Regions from separate parts of the Homo sapiens genome. Here region 2 is linked to region 1. Evidence: promoter capture Hi-C in human tissues and cell types (Jung and others, 2019). All regions are on one chromosome and are shown on one strand. Each heading gives the region's core, a stretch centred on a gene start or on the middle of the fragment in contact. The rest is flanking DNA. Distances are from core to core; before and after follow the strand shown.

Region 1 (4,927 bases), core at 1,865-4,364:
TTTACTGCCAGTCACACCTGTAATCGCAGTGCTTTGGGATGCTGAGGCGGGAGGACTGCTTGAGGCCAGGAGTTCAGGGCCAGCCTGGGTAACATAGCGGGACCCTGTCTCTACAAAACATTTTTAAATTAGCCAGGCATGATGGTGCATACATGTAGCCCCAGCTACTCGGGAGGCTGAGGTGTGAGGATCATTTGAGCCTGGGAGTTCGAGGCTGTAGTGAGCCGAGATCAGTCCAGCCTGGGTGAGAAAGAAAGACCCTGTCTCAACAAAACCCCAAAACAAAAACATAATACATATACATACATACACTAAACCCTACTGTTTGAGGATAACCACAGCGGCAAAGCCAGACTAATAATGTATTTATCCTCTATCCTCACTGGCTTACCCTGTGGGTATTATGCTTGATACTTTGTTTAGTTAATTCAGCTAATGTTAACTCAGTATTTCTGGGTGGAATACATACACAGGAGCCAAGTCCTAACCTCACCCTTGAGATGGGGGCGGTTTCCCCTGCCATACCTCAGTCCCCGCAGACCTGCTGAATCGGATCTCCTGGGGTGAGGCCCCAAGATCTGCCCTTTCAAAAGCTCCACTGATGATTCTGAAGGCAGACAAGCTTCCCTAAGGAATGCAGACAGGTGAGGCAGACAGGAAAAATGTCATCATGGTACAACAGGTGCAATCAAGAGGCAGGAACAGCCCAGAGGTGGTGGGCTGCCCAGAAGCTGTGATCTCTGAGGGGCATTTTGAAGGCTGGGAATTTTTGCCAGGTGAAAAAGGGCACACATCCATGTGTAAATGCACGGATGCATGAAAAGGGGCACAGCATGTTGGATGGAACTGGAAATTTCTGTGGGGTGGGGAAGAGGGAGGATGGGGAGAGACAGGGGCCTCGATCTGACCCAAGTGTGTCCATTGGTCTGTGCTGCTGATCCACACCACCCCCACAGCGAACACTGGGCCTTCTGCTGTGGTTGTTGAAATGCACCCCCAACCGCCCCAGAACCTGCCTCTCCCCTTCTGCATTTTCAACTCAGACGCACCCTTTCAAATCTAGTTCAGATACCACTTCTTCAACAAAGCTGCTTCTGATGTCCTCAGCCAGGAACAATCTCCCTTTCTCTAAATACATTCAGTTCTTTTTCACTATCTTTAGCTTTCTGGCCTTGACTAGAAGTTATCTGGGTCTTGTTTCATCTCCTGTTAGTTCATAAACTACTGAGGGGCAAAGTACGCATCCGGTTTGCCTTTGTGGCCTCCATGACACAGCTGGGGCTGAAAGAGTATTAAAAGAATGTGCTGCAAAGGTATATTATTGCAGGTAGAATTTATATCGTCTCCATTAGATTAGCTACAAAATACAATCCCATCATGCTGCCTAAGCTCGAATAAGTTTGCTTTTGCTTTACGAAAAATATGTCATTTTTGGATTCCAAACCCAAAAAGCTGTGGCCATATTCAGCAGGGTATGGTGAGGAGTACAGGGGCTAGGGAGAGCAGCCACACCTGAGGGACCTTGGGCAAAGCCACGCAACCTCCCTGAGCTTGTTTCCCACCTGCAAAATGCCGGTACAAAAACACTGCTGAAAACTGAGCGGCCCCGCACAGCGCCGGGCGCAGAGCAGAGGCTTTGCAGATAGCTGCCCCCAGATGGCACCTTGCAGCCTTCTGACCCAGACCAAAGTCCAAAAAGGTTGACTTACCCAAGGTCACACCTCTAGATAGTGATAGTGTGGCATCTGGACAGAATCACACTGGTCTTCCTAAACCTTAGCAAGACAACTCTCCAGTCTTGATGATTAACTGGATACAACCCTAAGCAGCTAACATCAGTCAAAAAAACTCAACGAGTGAAGGTTCCTGATTCTATTCCCTAACCCGTTTCTTCTAGTGGAAAAAGCTGTCTTCTTTTGGCAATTTTGGGGTGAGACTAATTTTGTTTACAACCCCAGCGCTGAAATGGGGTGGAATTTTACAGATGCCGTGTAGGCCCTCTGGCTTCAGGCGCTATGCTTCACCCTCCGGAGTTGGGCGACCGTCTTCTAGTTATCACCCCCCTAGCAACCAAAAGGTGTGTGGCCCAGGAAATAAACCCACTGGGAAAGGATGTTTTGTAGTATACAGAGTGCTTTCACATATTCCAAACATTGTGTATCAGGCACTGTGCTGGGTACTGCGGTTACAAATCAGTCACTATCACCCAGGATGTTAAGTCCTGCAGCGAACTAGTGTATTGTGCTTGACTTTGTTCCAAGCCTGGGCCTTGGCACCTTACAACTGAAAAGCTAAGTTGGTTCCTTTTAATTCATTTATGTTTCAGCTCCAGTGTCTGGCCTACGGGACCACCCACTCTAAAGCAGCCCCCGTCAATCCCAGAACCTGCCTTATGTTCGTTCTTCAGCAAGTGTGTTCAAGGCTTCACCTCCTGCACATAGTGGGGAGTGCTGGGAACACGGTCTCTAAGTGCTCCACAAAGGCTGAACCAGCGGTGAAAGGCCTGTAAGAAGAGCTAGGGAGCACGCAAAAGCCCCCAGCAGGGCTGTGAAGGCAGAGAAGGCACGAGGGCGTTCCAGGCACAGGGCCCAGCGTGAGCAACCGCTCCTAGAGTGAGGCTCCTGGGGTGAAAATGCCAGGGTGGTGACAGGTGGGGGCCGAACGCCGTCCCTAAGAAGCTCAGCCTGGGGACGCCCTGAGTCTTAACCCGGGCGGATACTGGCCTCCCCGGACAAGCAGCTACCCCGCCGCGGGGCGTCGGCCCCCTTCGGGCCTCAGTTTCCCCACGTCCCTCCCGACGCCTCACCTGGGGCGGGAGCAGGCGCGGCAGGCGCGGGGGCTCGGTGCCCCGGCCCCGCTGCAGGGCGGCCTGTTGGGCCGCGTCCCGCAGCCGCCGCGCCGCGTCCCGCAGCACGAAGGGGGGCGGCGGCGGCGGCGGCTGCGCCTTCGTCACCTGCTCCAGGACCTGCCGCAGCTGCTCGGGGCCCAGCGGGGCCACACGTGCGACGCTGCCGCTCTGGCCCGGAGGAGCCGGGCCGCCGCCGCCGCCGCCATCCTCGCTGCCGCCCCCAGCCTCCGGCTCCGCATCCGCCATGGCGGCCGAGGCGGGGACTCGAACCCGGGTCGCTGAGCGACGGCGTCTCCAATGTACGTCACCTAGGAGAGGGGCGGGCTACGAGTGCCTCGCAGGCCAAGACACCTAGGAAGGCGACCGTGTCTGGCCGGGAAAGTCGTGGAGTGCCCCGCCCCAGCCGACAACCGCCGCGGCTCTTAGGGCTGATCAGCAGAGCGGACCCCCCTTATTTTCCTTATTGCCTGTCACGGATGTGTTTAAGACTCACCTTCTCTGGGAGCTGTCCCGGATCTCCCAGGGGGAGGTCTTCGGGGTTTCAGAGCCCCTGGCCCAAAAGTTACCACAATATCCAAGTGTTCTGACGTCATCATGCATCCGAATCAGCGGAGGATGCTGTCTGGAGATGCAGAGTACTGTGCCCACCCCTAAACATTTGGATTTATACATCTGGGAGGGGACCACAGTTTGAATTGTTAACGAGAGTGTTTCCCAAATTTTTGCCTTGTCACCGTAGCTTCTCTCTACCCACCCACCCAGATTGGGTGCACCTTGAAGGGAGAGATGATATATTACACAATCGGTGCCCAGCACAGGCCCTGCCCAGAACACAACGCACGCTCAGGGCATGAATGATGGATGGATGAATATGAATAAACGAATGAGTGAACGAATGAATGAACCCACCCTCTCTCTATCCATCCAGCTCCACTGCCCCATCTTCCTCAGCCTGATCGCCTCTCCTTCTTACGGTTGAGGCTCTGTGCGCCCTCCGAATCTTGTAGCTGCAGGTGTGTACACATGTCCCAGCTCCTTTCCCCAGGGAGAGCAGGAGGTCCACTGGTCCACAAACCCTTCTTAAGCACCTGGTGGGTGAACCGCTGTTTCCGCCCTGGGGGGTATACAGTCTAGGTGCCGACCCCCAAGGAGGAAACTTCCCAAGGGGGAAGGAGGAAACTGGCATTTGCAGCACAGTATGATGAGCGCCGAAGCCGGTAAAGTAAGGCTGGCGGCCTGGGTGGCGTCAGAGAAGGTTCTGGAAGATCACCACCATCCTCATCAATACTCACATTGCATTCACGATGATCCCTTCCGTGTTATTTTTTAATGGTGAATTTTATATTATGGGTATCTTACCACAATTTTTTTTTTTTTTTGAGACAAGATCTCACTCTGTCACCCAGGCTGGAGTGCAGTGGCACAATCTCAGCTCACCGCAACCTCCATCGCCTGGGTTCATGCGGTTCTCCTGCCTCAGCCTCTTGAGTAGCTGGGATTACAGGCGTCCGCCACCATGCCTGGCTAATTTTTGTATTTTTAGTAGAGACGGGGTTTCATCATGTTGGTAAGGCTGGTCTTGAAACCCTGACCTTAGGTGATCCGCCCGCCTCGGCCTTCCCAAGTGCTGAGATTACAGGTGTGAGCCACCACACCCGACCAGATTTCAGGAATTCACATGCCTTCTGCTCAAAATAATTTTCATGCCACCGTGGCATATTCTAAACCCCTTCAAGCTCAGGAAACTTGAGGGCAGCAACCTCCACCGATTCCTCCATGCTGTGTCCCTGCATCTAACAACGTGCCTGGCACGACTATTAAAAGATGTGACATCCATCCTGTGTACAGATGTCTATTTTAAGTGTCAGCTGCCCCAGGCTCTCCTAACTTTGCTTATAATAGCAGCAGCGCCATCGGCTGGCATTTATTGAGAACTTTTACTACACCCTGGGCACATACCAAGGTCTGTAGATGTTGAGCTGCTTCTTATTTAGGTCAGAACTAGTAGCTGTTTCCACTGTAGAATTTTCAAAAACAGGTGGAGCCCTTGCCGGATCCTGACATAAAATGGCATCAACC
Region 2 (4,658 bases), core at 2,088-4,587, 570 kb after region 1:
ACCAGAGCACCTCTTCTCCTTCAAAGGATCACAGCTCCTCACCAGCAATGGAACAAAGCTGGACAGAGAATGACTTTGACGAGCCGACAGAAGTAGGCTTCAGAAAGTCTGTAATAACAAACTTCTCCGAGCTAAAACAGGATGTTTGAACCCATTGCAAGGAAGCTAAAAACCTTGGAAAAATATTAGATGAATGGCTAACTAGAATAAGCAGTGTAGAGAAGACCTTAAATAACCTGATGGAGCTGAAAACCATGGCATGAGAACTACGTGACACATACCTAAGCTTCAATAGCCGATTAGATCAAGTGGAAGAAAGGGTATCACTGATTGAAGATCAAATTAATGAAATAAAGCGAGAGGAGAAGTTTAGAGAAAAAGAGTAAAAAGAAATGAACAGAGCCTCCAAGAAATTTGGGACTATGTGAAAAGACCAAATCTACATTTGATTGGTGTACCTGAAAGTGACAGGGAGAATGGAACCAAGTTGGAAAACACTCTTCAGGATATTATCCAGGAGAACTTCCCCAACCTAGCAAGGCAGGCCAACATTCAAATTCAGGAAATACAGAGAACACCACAAAGATACTCCTCGAGAAGAGCAACCCCAAGACATATAATTGTCAGATTCATCAAGGTTGAAATGAAGGAAAAAATGTTAAGGGCAGCCAGAGAGAAAGATTGGGTTACCCATAAAGGGAAGCACATCAGACTAACAGCGGATCTCTCAGCAGAAACCCTACAAGCCAGAAGACAGTGGGGGCCAATATTCAACATTCTTAAAGGAAAGAATTTTCAACCCAGAATTTCATATCCAGCCAAACTAAGCTTCATAAGTGAAGAAGAAATACAATCCTTTACAGACAAGCAAATGCTGAGAGATTTTGTCACCACCAGGCCTGCCTTACAAGAGCTCCTGAAGGAAGCACTAAACGTGGAAAGGAACAACTGGTACCAGCCACTGCAAAAACATGCCAAATTGTAAAGACCATCGATGCTAGCAAGAAACTGCATCAACTAACGGGCAAAATAACCAGCTAACATCATAATGACAGGATCAAATTCACACATAACAATATTAACCTTAAATGTAAATGGGCTAAATGCCCCAATTAAAATACACAGACTGGCAAATTGGATAAAGAGTCAAGACCCATCAGTGTGCTGTATTCAGGAGAGCCATCTCACGTGCAGAGACACACATAGGCTTAAAATAAAGGGAAGGAGGAAGATCTACCAAGCAAACGGAAAGCAAAAAAAAAAGCAGAGGTTGCAATCCTCGTCTCTGATAAAACAGATTTGAAACCAACAAAGATCAAAAGAGACAAAGAAGGCCATTACATAATAGTAAAGGGATCAATTCAATTCAACAAGAAGAGCTATCCTAAATATATATATGCACCCAATACAGTAGCACTCAGATTCATAAAGCAAGTCCTTAGAGACCTACAAAGAGACTTAGACTCCCACACAATAATAATGGGAGACTTTAACACCCCACTGTCAATATTAGACAGATCAATGAGACAGAAGGTTAACAGCGATATCCAGGACTTGAACTCAGCTCTGCACCAAGCAGACCTAATAGACATCTACAGAACTCTCCCCTCAAATCAACAGAATATACATTTTTCTCAGCACCACATCACAGTTATTCCAAAACTGACCACATAGTTGGAAGTAAAGCACTCCTCAGCAAATGTAAAAGAATAGAAATCACAACAAACTGTTTCTTAGACTACAGTGCAATCAAATTAGAACTCAGGATTAAGAAATTCACTCAAAACCACACAACTACATGGAAACTGAACAACCTGCTCCTGAATGACTACTGGGTAAATAATGAAATGAAGGCAGAAATAAAGATGTTCTTTGAAACCAATGAGAACAAAGACACAATGTACCAGAATCTCTGGGACACATTTAAAGCAGTGTGTAGAGGGAAATTTTTAACACTAAATTCCCACAAGAGAAAGAGGAAAGATCTAAAATCAACACCCTAACATCTCAATTAAAAGAACTAGAGAAGCAAGAGCAAACTTCAAAAGCTAGCAGAAGGCAAGAAATAACTAAGATCAGAGCAGAACTGAAGTAGATAGAGACACAAAAAAACCTTCAAAAAATCAATGAATCCAGGAGCTGGTTTTTTGAAAAGATCAACAAAATTGATAGACCACTAGCAAGACTAATAAAGAAGAAAAGAGAGAAGAATCAAATAGATGCAATACAAAATGATAAAGGGGATATCACCACAGATCCCACAGAAATACAAACTACCATCAGAGAATAAACTAGAAAATCTAGAAGAAATGGATAAATTCCTGGACACATACACCCTCCCAAGACCAAACCAGGAAGAAGTTGAATCTCTGAATAGACCAATAACAGGCTCTGAAATTGAGGCAATAATTAATAGCCTACCAACCAAAAAAAGTCCAGGACCAGATAGATTCACAGCTGAATTCTACCAGAGGTACAAAGAGGAGCTGGTACCATTCCTTCTGAAACGATTCCAATCAATAGAAAAAGAGGGAATCCTCCCTAAATCATTTTATGAGGCCAACATCATCCTGATACCAAAGCCTGGCAGAGACACAACAAAAAAGGCAATTTTAGACCAATATCCCTGATGAACATCGATGTGAAAATTCTCAATAAAATACTGGCAAACTGAATCCAGCAGCACATCAAGAAGCTTATCTACCACGATCAAGTCAGCTTCATCCCTGGGATGCAAGGCTGGTTCAACATATGCAAATCAATATATGCAATCCATCACATAAACAGAACCAATGACAAAAACCACATGATTATCTCAATAGATGCAGAAAAGGCCTTTGACAAAATCCAACAACCATTCATCCTAAAAACTCTCAATAAATTAGGTATTGATGGAATGTATCTCAAAATAATAAGAGCTATTTATGACAAACCCACGGCCAATATCATACTGAACGGGCAAAAACTGGAAGCATTCCCTTTGAAAAGTGGCACAAGACAGGGATGCCCTCTCTCACCACTCCTATTCAACACAGTGTTGGAAGTTCTGGCCAGGACAGTCAGGCAAGAGAAAGAAATAAAGGGTATTCAATTAGGAAAAGAGGAAGTCAAATTGTCCCTGTTTGCAGATGACATGATTGTATATTTAGAAAACCCCACTGTTCTCAGCCCAAAATCTCCTTAAGCTGATAAGCAACTTCAGCAAAGTCTCAGGATACAAAATCAGTGTGCAAAAATCACAAGCATTCCTATACACCATTAACACACAAACAGAGAGCCAAATCATGAGTGAACTCCCATTCACAACTGCTACAAAGAGAATAAAATACCTAGGAATCCAACTTACAAAGGATGTGAAGGACCTCTTCAAGGAGAACTACAAACCACTGCTCAAGGAAATAAAGAGAATACAAACAAATGGAACAACATTCCATGCTCATGGGTTGGAAGAATCAATATCGTGAAAATGGCCATACTGCCCAAAGTAATTTATAGATTCAATGCCATCCCCATCAAGCTACCAATGACTTTCTTCACAGAATTGGAAAAAACTACTTTAAAGTTCATATGGAACCAAAAAAGAGCCTGCATTGCCAAGACAATCCTAAGCCAAAAGAACAAATCTGGAGGCATCACGCTACCTGACTTCAAGCTATACTACAAGGCTACAGTAACCAAAACAGCATGGTACTGGTACTAAAACAGAGAGATAGACCAATGGAACAGAACAGAGGCCTCAGAAATAACACCACACATCTACAACCATCTGATCTTTGACAAACCAACAAAAACAAGAAATGGGGAAAGGATTCCCTATTTAATAAATGGTGCTGGGAAAACTAGCTAGCCATATGTAAAAAGCTGAAACTGGATCCCTTCCTTACACATTATACAAAAATTAATTCAAGATGGATTAAAGACTTAAATGTTATACCTAAAACCATAAAAACCCTAGAAGCAAACCTAGGCAATACCATTCAGGACATAGGCATGTGCAATTTCATGACTAAAACACCAAAAGCAATGGCAACAAAACCAAAATAGACAAATGGGATCTAATTAAACTAAACAGCTTCTGCACAGCAAAAGAAACTACCATCAGAGTGAACAGGCCACCTACAGAATGGGAGAAAATTTTTGCAATCTACCCATTTGACAAAGGGCTCATATCCAGAATCTACAAAGAACTTAAACAAATTTACAAGAAAAAAAACAACCCCATCAAAAAGTGGGCAAAGGATATGAACAGACACTTCTCAAAAGAAGACATTTATGCAGCCAACAGACACATGAAAAAATGTTCATCGTCACTGGTCATCAGACAAATGCAATCAAAACCACAGTGAGACAGCATCTCACACCAGTTAGAATGGCAGTCATTAAAAAGTCAGGAAACAACAGATGCTGGAAAGGATGTGGAGAAATAGGAACGCTTTTACACTGTTGGTGGAGTGTAAACTAGTTCAACCATTGTGGAAGACAGTGTGGCAATTCCTCAAGGAGCTAGAACTAGAAATACCATTTGGCCCAGAGATACTATTACTGGGTATATACCCAAAGGATTATAAATCATGCTACTGTAAAGACACATGCACACGTATGTTTATTGCGGCACTATTCACAATAACGAAAACTTGGAACAACCCAAATGTCCATCA

The links. Contacts are between HindIII fragments. The study calls those that stand out against the background at their distance.
Region 2: a contact is called between a fragment that was not itself captured here and the fragment with the promoter of ZNF839 in region 1, in 2 of the 25 tissues and cell types used here (ovary and spleen).

Annotation. Positions count from the first base shown.
Region 1 is chr14:102,317,933-102,322,859 of GRCh38, reverse strand. ZNF839 (zinc finger protein 839) reads right to left here and starts at 3,114. Exons shown (of 8, transcript NM_018335.6): 1 at 2,807-3,114. The coding sequence starts at 3,094. RefSeq lists an enhancer at 2,495-2,604 and silencers at 2,705-2,894, 2,955-3,054. The HindIII fragment of the contact is 9,233 bases long and covers 1-4,927 here.
Region 2 is chr14:101,744,633-101,749,290 of GRCh38, reverse strand. No RefSeq gene overlaps it. Among named protein-coding and RNA genes, the nearest start is that of PPP2R5C, 15 kb to the left of the region's middle. The HindIII fragment of the contact is 7,602 bases long and covers 1-4,658 here.